Linked DNA regions of Homo sapiens: regions 1 and 2 are each linked to region 3. The links are contacts of gene promoters, found by promoter capture Hi-C in human tissues and cell types (Jung and others, 2019). All regions are on one chromosome and are shown on one strand. Each heading gives the region's core, a stretch centred on a gene start or on the middle of the fragment in contact. The rest is flanking DNA. Distances are from core to core; before and after follow the strand shown.

Region 1 (2,949 bases), core at 99-2,598, 40 kb after region 3:
AGAAGGTGGAGTAGAAGCAGGTCTTTTCTGCAAGACTCTGGATATGGATTCATTTCTTAAAATTACCTCAAGTGACTTCCTCCCTCACCCAGTCAACCTGAAATCTAGGAACTCAAGCTGTATTACAGAATTAAGGGATGATGGGCAATTAAAACTGTAATCCACCTAGACAGAAATATGACAGAAACATTAGTCTACTGATATGGGGTTAAGTCTTGTTTCATGACACAAAGTTATAGAAAGTGCCTCCATGCCTCTGTATTGGCAGAGGATATAGAATTTCCCACCCTCTTCTCCAGTCCTGACTCTACATCCCAAACAACAAATGGGTAGTAAGTAGGGGAAAGAACACTAAATCCTTTGTTTTCACTTTGACTCCTGAATCTGTGACCTTTTTGCTTTAGTAGAAACATATCTTTTTTAGGAGATTTGGGAATTGGCTAACAATTGGCAAAATTGCTAGCCAATTTCCAAATCTCCTAAATTGGCTAACAATTGGCAAAAATGCTAGCCAATTCCCAAATCTCCTAAAAAAGATATGTTTCTACTAAAGCATAGGTGTGTTTGTGTAAGCAAGGCAACTTTTTAGGGTCATGAAATCCCCGCTGCTAAGTGATTTGGGATATATTTGCAATGATGGAAGCTTTTTTAAAAAATGCCTTCATTGCTATCTAGTTGGCAGGAACCTGGGGGAAAAAAATAGGCTCAAATTGAGTTCTGTTCCAGTCTAAAATTATAGACATTTAAACCAAGAAAATCTCACAGAGTTTTTCTAGTCCAAGATCTCTCACAATTAAAGATATGCCTTTGATCTCTGAGTTAGTTGTTCAATCTTCACTTAACTACTAGAAGAAACAGTGATAACAACTTCACTGTTTTTCAGAAAGCCCAAACTGTTTTTCTGGATGCAATGTTTAGGAAAAATAAATCCTTATAAGTAATAAAGCTAACTCCTTTTCATGTGTTACTGCTCTTTTCTTTCCTTATTTTATTCTACAAATCATCTTCCCTGCAGAATTTGAAACTAACAGTCCTACTTAACCTAACTCCTCTACATATTCTTATTCCTAATCCAATTTTGTCTTCTTTCCAGATCAAACATCCTCCTTCTACATATTCACCAATCTGCCCATAAATGTCCCTTGTAAAGTATGAGATTCTGAACTGAAGGACATTTCAAGCCTGTTTGTTTTTCTCTACTTCAAATATGCCGGAATTTCCCATAGGTGTATTAAACCTCTATGTATATGACTATGTATTATCATAACACTTAGCTTGCATACCCACCCATAAACTTAGAGCAATAGAGTCTTGGATGTCAGGGCCATTTTTAACATTTTTTGTTGCAGCATTCAGAAATTATATCATCCTAATAGTGACTTCAAAGGAAGAAAAATAGGACTAACATTTTTTAAATGCTGAGAATCACAAATAAGTTAAAGAAGCCATTAACGCTCACTGTTAATTTCTTCTCTTGAAATCCACCCTGGTATGCAAACATTAGACTTTTCTTTGCTTGAACTATGTACAAGCTGACAAGCCTCTCTCCGACAGCAAAAACTCTGACTTTTTGATTTCACATTCTCCCTTATTTCTAACTCATTCTTTCCGTGGAAACTTAGGTAAACATTTTTTTTTCATGGAGGCAACTTCTATATTATGGAAATCTGAACAATTGATATAAAACATCCTTGAAGGCAATGATGGAAAATGACTTACTTAGAAAACATGTTAATATGTAATTTCTAAAGACCCAGTTCTGGCTGCAGCACTATCATTTGCTATATGAATCTGCACAGGCTGAATTCACTGCTCTGAGATTCAGTGCATTCATCTAAAATGTATTATATGCATTATTCACCTCGTTGGGGTTGTTTTGAACCCCAACTGAAGCTCAAACATGTCAATACATCATAACGCTAAAGCACTTTTTAATTCTTGAAACTGTTCTTAACAAACAGTATAGATTTGAGTTGTTTATACTGTCATAGAGTGAAAACTATATGTGTGTTTCACTAAAGGTCTGAGGGAAAAGATAATTTCAGTATTTCCCACTATCAAAGCCTCCCATTTCAGAAGGCATTTGGCTCAAAATATTGAAATTTCAAAAGTTGGGTGAAAACTTGGATCACTATTTTCTTATTTCCATGGGTAGGACCTCCCTTGTGGTTGCCACGCTGGTGGCAGAAGCCAAAGAGTTTTCCATGATTGCCTTTCATGTACATTTACTTGGCTCCCAAATACCTTACAGGCAGAATTTTCTTCTGTGGTTATACTAGATTACACTTAACTCTTAGAATATCAAACCACAGCACTTTTTTATATTGGATGGACAGTAAGACAGATTTCTAATAGAATTTTACTTGACAATGACTAAGAATACTGATCAAAATTTATAAGCTTCCAGAAGTATTTTTAATTAAATTACACCTTTTAGTATGTTTTCTTTTGACTAGCTCTTAAATTCATGCTTAGTTTAAAATTTTTTAAATGATAACTAACGGCCATTCCCCTAGATATTTTTAAAATTCTCAGTTATAAAGCAAAGTTTAACAAATCAAAAATCAAGATTTTCATGAGTTTTTAAAATAAAATCCTGCCATTCAACAAAGCCATTAAAAAATATCTTTTGAAAAATCACAGCATCTAATTTTAGCCCCCTCAAATCACATATTCCTAATCACAACACCCCTCAGAGTGGTCAGGTATCCTCTGTTTAAATGCTAACAGAGGCTGAAAGTTTATAACTGTGATATCCACTCCACTATTACATATTATTTGTACTTCATCTTCTTTATATTTAGTCAAAACCCACTGAAAACTCTGCTTATTTTTCCTAGTTCTATCCTGAGAGCTAGAATAAATCAGTCTTAGCTTTCATTTTAATAGTGTTTCTAAGTCTTGTTTTAAAATCTTAGTTTCAGATACATTTTTAGAAATCTACTATGA
Region 2 (2,759 bases), core at 173-2,672, 45 kb before region 3:
ATGGAAGTTTTACACAGCAGCACTGGAAGATGAGTCCCAGCAAGAGGTAGATGGCATACTCAAGTGGATGCATTGAGGATAATTTCATGAATGCATTATTTAAAATTGCATGAGCTGAGTTAAGGAATACCAAGGAGAGATGTTGGAACATACTGAGATGAGCAACAAAAAAAGATTTACCACCTTTGGATCTGAGGTGGAAACTAGAAGGGGTCATTGTCAGAATCTACAGAGAGAAGGAGAGAGCAGCCTGAGGAACAACCTCTAAATACACACAACAACAACAACAAAACAGGCAATGAGGGAGAGAAATAAATAGCCCAGGCGCATTCTTATCCAACACTTTGAATTCCCGACAGTTCCTCCATTGGCCAAAGCAAAGCAGAAGGCAGACGGCAAACGAATCTATTGATTTTTCCATGAAGGTCAGCCTCCTGATAGAGCAGAATAAAGGAGGTAGGAGAGTAGAGCTGGAGGTGCAAATAGAAGATATCCAGAAGAGCTGATAAGTTAGATCAAGAAGATATCCAAGGGGCTAGAAGCTTTCCAAAGTGGGCAGGAATGGGGAATGTTTCCAGGTGTCGTTTACCGTCTGCACTCACTAACCCTGTCACAAGCTTGTTCCACATCTAACTCTTATTGTTCACGTGTCAGAAATAGCTCACTCTGCAAGAACAGAGACCAGAAGCTGTCCTACTGAGTTCCAACATAAAGTACCTGGGTCAAGGATTAAGGAGCAAGAATTGATAAAATATAGATCCACACGCAACTTTAAGAGCCTGTAAGGATTCTTAAGTATAAAAACATTATTGTTTCTAATCTTGAATTTTTGACAGTCCTGAGGTTTGTGTTAATCCAAATTTTGATTAAATTTTGATTGAACTAATCCTCAAATCTGTATTCATTAGTTCGGTAAATATGCTTTAGATTTTCTTTTTCTTTTAACTTAGCCAAATATTGACCTGAAACTGTCCAAAAGTTTACTGAGTTTCTGATTAAATATTAAACAGAAAAATGACTCCAAGCTATTTAGTGTAGTAGTTTCTCTAATGTGGAAATTTATTTTTTTTCAAATTTTATGATCCTTCCACAGGTTTTAACATAAAAATAACTAAAGCATTATAAACCTCTTATAATTCATGTCAAAAAATGCATGGGCACTGGGTGGCTAGTCACTGAGACACAGTGAGATCTGGTCAAAATTCTGTGCACACTCTTGGTGGCTCAGCACACCGTATTGAGAACAGACTGTTTCCATAGAGGCTCTACTTTATTCCTAGCTCTGTTGCCTATAATTATTGTAAAGCAGGACTATTTCCTGCCTTCCTGCCCAAAATAGAAGGAAGCATCCAACTCTGTCAACTCCCTTTGCTCTTGGCATCACCTCTCAACAGGGGTTAGGGTTTCCTGCCAGGAATTTCAAAAACAGTAACTGTTTTGGTTTCTTATCCAAAATTCAACTTGCGAGCAAAGAAATGGAGCAAGATCTATAATATAGCCAGGGATTCAGAGAAATTACATGTCTTTAGGCCTGGTTAATAGCACCAAGCCGGGGCTAGACTCATTGTGAGAATCAGTTCCAGGTAAGACTTGGTGAGCTTTGGAGTAATTGGGAGCAATTGAACACTCTAAAGAGTGTTTTATTAAGTACCGATAGCAAAGAAAATATTCGTTACCCCTGGGGTTTAATGAAAAATTGCACTGAGCATTCCTACACACTTCCTCTATGGACCCATGCTACGTTTCCATGGGCACATTGCATTCACAGCCAGAATACTGTTCAACACTAATATGCCTAGCCCTACCTCCAGCCTTTGGTAGTTCCCGAGGTCACGTCCTTTAGTCATCCAGTGCCTAAAATGAATGTTGTCTAACTACAACAAAACTCTCAACTATCACAGCTAACATTAACTGGATTTTGTTGTTGTCAATGGTGGTGGTTATTCCTTTGGGCTCTAGGCATAATACTAAATGTTTTATATGCTTGTATCTCAGTTAATTTTACTATAAGTCCATTAGGGGATGACCGTTAGTCCCCATTTTACAAATGGGGAAACTGAGTTTTAGAAAGATCCAGTCATTAGGCCAGGTTCATAAGGAACAGAGCTAGGGCTTAAAGTAGGCAGTGCTGCACTACTCCCCATAAGGTCCCCATGGTACGCCCCTCTGAGACCATTTAATGGCACAGTGCAGAATAAAAAGAAGCTTTCCTCATGACACCACCAAATATGAGGGGCAGTTATTTCCAAAGAGGAGGCAGAAAGTGCTAAAAACCATGCTCTGGTATGAAAGACACACTTCCATCAAATGTGTAAGCTTTAACTTTCAAGAGAGACCGTTTCCTGACTCCTCACCCCTATGCCTGCCCTTGTGAAAGAGACAAACATCTTTGTCTCTTCTGATTGTACACTCCCGGTTTTTGTTTCTGTGCTTGAGAATCAGCCCTAAAGAATTAAGATCTGACTCTTTTGCCAGAGACCCTGTCCTGACCCTAGAATCATGGTAGCCCCCAGGTAAGAGGCATTACTCATTCAAAAGGCCAGGGAAGACCCAAATCCTCATACATGCCAAATACTCAAAAGTCCCCTTCATTGGGTCTAGGTTTAAAATTCTTTCACGGAAAGCCTATGGCCTTTCATCCCAAGTCTTTGGGCTAAGCACATGAGGAAGAAAAGCCCAAGATGAAGTGGCTGCCCGCCATGGGAGCAATGTCACTTCTCTCTTTACAACACTAATCTTTCTTTCTCGGTGGGTAGATA
Region 3 (3,142 bases), core at 591-3,090:
TTTAAATGAAAAAGTACAAATATTGCCAGTCTGAAATAACTCATGTCCCAAAGGAAGAAAAAAATATTCATTCTAATTTCCTCTGAATTTAACTGGACTATATTTTTTAAACGACTTGGCCTTTAAAGTGCATAATTTACTTAAAAGGAAACATAATGAAGATGGAAAATACAGCTTTATTTTCTGTGTTGGGAGACTTCTCTTTTGTTTCATTGTCATTAACTTTCAATATTTCTACATATCAATGCATTCCCGGATAATTAAGGGGCTAAAATGGGCCCTGCTGTTTCATCAATTCCACATTTGCCTAGGATCATAAAATGTTTCATTATGTTATTAGTCCAGAGCTCTTTTTGGTGATTTCTAAATCTCCTCCCAGACCCCTCTCTCTAGCACACACACACGCACATGCACACGCACACACACACATCACCCCTTTCTCAAGCTGCTAAAGCAAAATGCCTGATAACTCTTAAAATGAGAGATGCTCAAGGACCGCAGCTTTAATATTTTCTCCTCTTAGCACCCCTACCCCTCCTATTTTCTGAATGTGTCCCCAAACTTACAAAGCAGCTCTTAACAGACACAAGGGTGAGTTAACACTAGAGTGTATATAAACTGCATGTGTGTGTTCCTGTGTGTGTGTGTGTGTGTGTTGTGTCACATTATGTCATGGAGAAAGGGGTGTGTGTGTATGGAGAGGAGAGAGGAGGTTTCACTTTCCATCTATTAAGAAAGGAGTTGAATACATTCCTCTCAAAAAATGTTTTCTTAACTTATTAGAAACAACAACTCAGAAACTCTAAATATCTAGTAAATTAGTAACAAATATATCCTAAATTTATGTGGGTCAAATTAAAAGTTTAAGGGTCTATGTACTGGGCAGTTCTTTAAATTTGCATTCAAATGAGAGATGGGACTCCAGGTGTGTCTTCTAAACTTTGGACCTAACCATTTCTGGAACCATTCCTGGGCTGTCAGGTGGGAAGACGGGTGCCAGTAGTTCCGTGAGAGACGTTTCATGTCAGCTAGCACTGGGAGGAACAAGCCCCCACAGCTTACCTAGAAATGCCAGCTAAGAGTCATGGGCTGACAGGCTCTGGGGCAATCAGAGAATCAGAGAGAGGCTGGGAAAATGAGAGCTGCTTGTTCAGGCTGCCTTACTTTCTTTGCACCTACCCAGCCAGAGACACACCTACTAAAGCTCCAGGTTTTACAAAAAGCAAAGATGCACTCTCCAGCCCACCCTGTCTTGCTCTCCAGCTGGTAGCTGGAACACGGTCCAAATACATGCTTAACATCACAAAAACTTCTTTCCTTTCACTTACCTAAGCACACCCGAACTAACCTAACCTGAAACCCCAAAAATATGCCTCCCTTGGCCTCTGGAGCAAGTCAGTTTTGAAAGCAGTCCTATCAGCAAAGACACCAGGCAGCCTCTCTCACCCCTACCACCATCATCTGCTGGCACCCAGAAAAGTGGCACAGGGTGAAGGCAAACTCGATCGAAGAGCCCTCCGAGAAATCGTACGTTCCTCTCACTTACTTTGAGTTGGAAACGTCCTCTCTGGCGCTCAGTCTGCCTTTGTTGCAAGGGGCGAGGTTGCTACCGCTGAGTCCAGGTACCCGGCTCGCTGCAGCTCCTGCTTGGGCCGCTGCTGCTCTCCCCGCCTTCTGGACGGATGACTCACTGGTCTCTTTCTTCCCCTCTCTCCACTTTGGATTTTCCTCTGCTCTGGGGCTCTCTTGGCGGGATTTTTGGACTGGAAGGCGGGGAACCTGATCCTGCCTTTGACTCAATTACGCCCTGACAGGGAGGGAACGGAAGGGAAATGGAGAATGGGAGGGATGAGAGGAGCGGGCCAGGAGGACGAAGGCTGGGCGAGGGAGGGAGAGCGCTTTGCACTCGAGAGCTGATTGGGAAGCTTATTAAAAGCAGAATACTCCAGGGGCAGTCTCTCCCTGCGGAGCAAGAAAACGGATTTGAACCAAGAGGCCATGAGATGGTACCTTGTTTTGTTTTTAGCAGAGACGAAACACAACATTTCTTTTCCAAACTCCACCCATGATCTATTCTTCAGATGAGTGCAAAGCCACTTTGCCAAATAGGATATTTTAAATGGACAATTGATGGCATTTTAGGTTACATTTTTGGCCCCCCACAATCCTTTAATGATATTCAGAATGGAAAAGCACTCTCTTCAAACCAGCCTCTTCTTCCACCCACGAAAGCCCTCTCTAAACACAGAGACAGTAAGGTGTCAGTCACATCTCACCTGCAAAGCACAAAATGTACAAAGTACTTTTTCTCAATTGTCACAAAGAGTGACAGACGTCTCAAAGTTCCCAATTAAGTGCTACTTACCTTTAGGGAGAGCTCTTTCCTTTTTTGGTTTCCTTGGTGCCTTTAGCAACCTATTTAGTAACATGCCTTTGACACCCAAGAATTTAGAGGATTCGTCAAAGTAGCTCAAACTCTGAGGTTTGTAAAACTTGGAGGCTGGGCTTTGCGTCTCTGGAATTGTCATTTCATTCAATACAGGAAAGACGCTAAGGCAATGCATAGGTAAATATTTATGATAAAGATGAGATAAAAGTATTGTGTAAAAGGATTAAGATGTATTATACAAATTCACCCAAACATTTTCGAAATGTAAATTTCGAGATTTTCTGCCACTTATCAGCTTTTCCTGCTCCGTGGCTAGCTCCTTTTACCTACTTTTACCTTTACTGGTCAGCTTATCATTTGATGGCGTCCTTCCCAAATTGGTTGTAAAATAGACCACATTTTTCATAATTCTGAGGTTACATCCCTTCATTTCAATTTGACAAATATTTATTAAGCAATTTGTTTACTTAGAACTATCCTTAAATCCCCAAATTAGAAGCATTGTCTTGTGGCAAGTAGTTTTTAGGGACTTGGGGCTCTTCTATTGACAGCTACCTGTAGAAATGTCCCTTGGAGAAGTTGACTGGAGCCAGACGTGGCTCTACAAACTCAATCAAGCAGTCAATCAAGCTTTTCAAAAGGAAAGGCATCAGAGATGCACTTACACACCTACAATTTATCCCCCTTCCCAAACTCTTCATATACATACCACATACAATTCTCAAATGAAATAACTAAATAAGGAAGCTGTGT

The links. Contacts are between HindIII fragments. The study calls those that stand out against the background at their distance.
Region 1: a fragment that was not itself captured here is called in contact with the fragment with the promoter of PTN in region 3 in 2 of the 25 tissues and cell types used here (hippocampus and mesenchymal stem cells).
Region 2: a contact is called between a fragment that was not itself captured here and the fragment with the promoter of PTN in region 3, in 8 of the 25 tissues and cell types used here (H1 embryonic stem cells, adrenal gland, bladder and 5 more).

Annotation. Positions count from the first base shown.
Region 1 is chr7:137,382,772-137,385,720 of GRCh38, forward strand. It overlaps DGKI (diacylglycerol kinase iota), which reads right to left. Exons shown (of 33, transcript NM_001321708.2): 33 at 1-2,949. Among named protein-coding and RNA genes, the nearest start is that of PTN, 41 kb to the left of the region's middle. The HindIII fragment of the contact is 5,211 bases long and covers 1-2,949 here.
Region 2 is chr7:137,297,352-137,300,110 of GRCh38, forward strand. The region is part of intron 1 of PTN (pleiotrophin); the gene reads right to left. Among named protein-coding and RNA genes, the nearest start is that of PTN, 45 kb to the right of the region's middle. The HindIII fragment of the contact is 3,750 bases long and covers 1-2,759 here.
Region 3 is chr7:137,341,893-137,345,034 of GRCh38, forward strand. It overlaps PTN (pleiotrophin), which reads right to left and starts at 1,841. Exons shown (of 5, transcript NM_002825.7): 1 at 1,547-1,841. RefSeq lists promoters at 1,635-3,142, 1,635-2,380 and a cis regulatory region at 2,384-2,393. The HindIII fragment of the contact is 6,839 bases long and covers 1-3,142 here.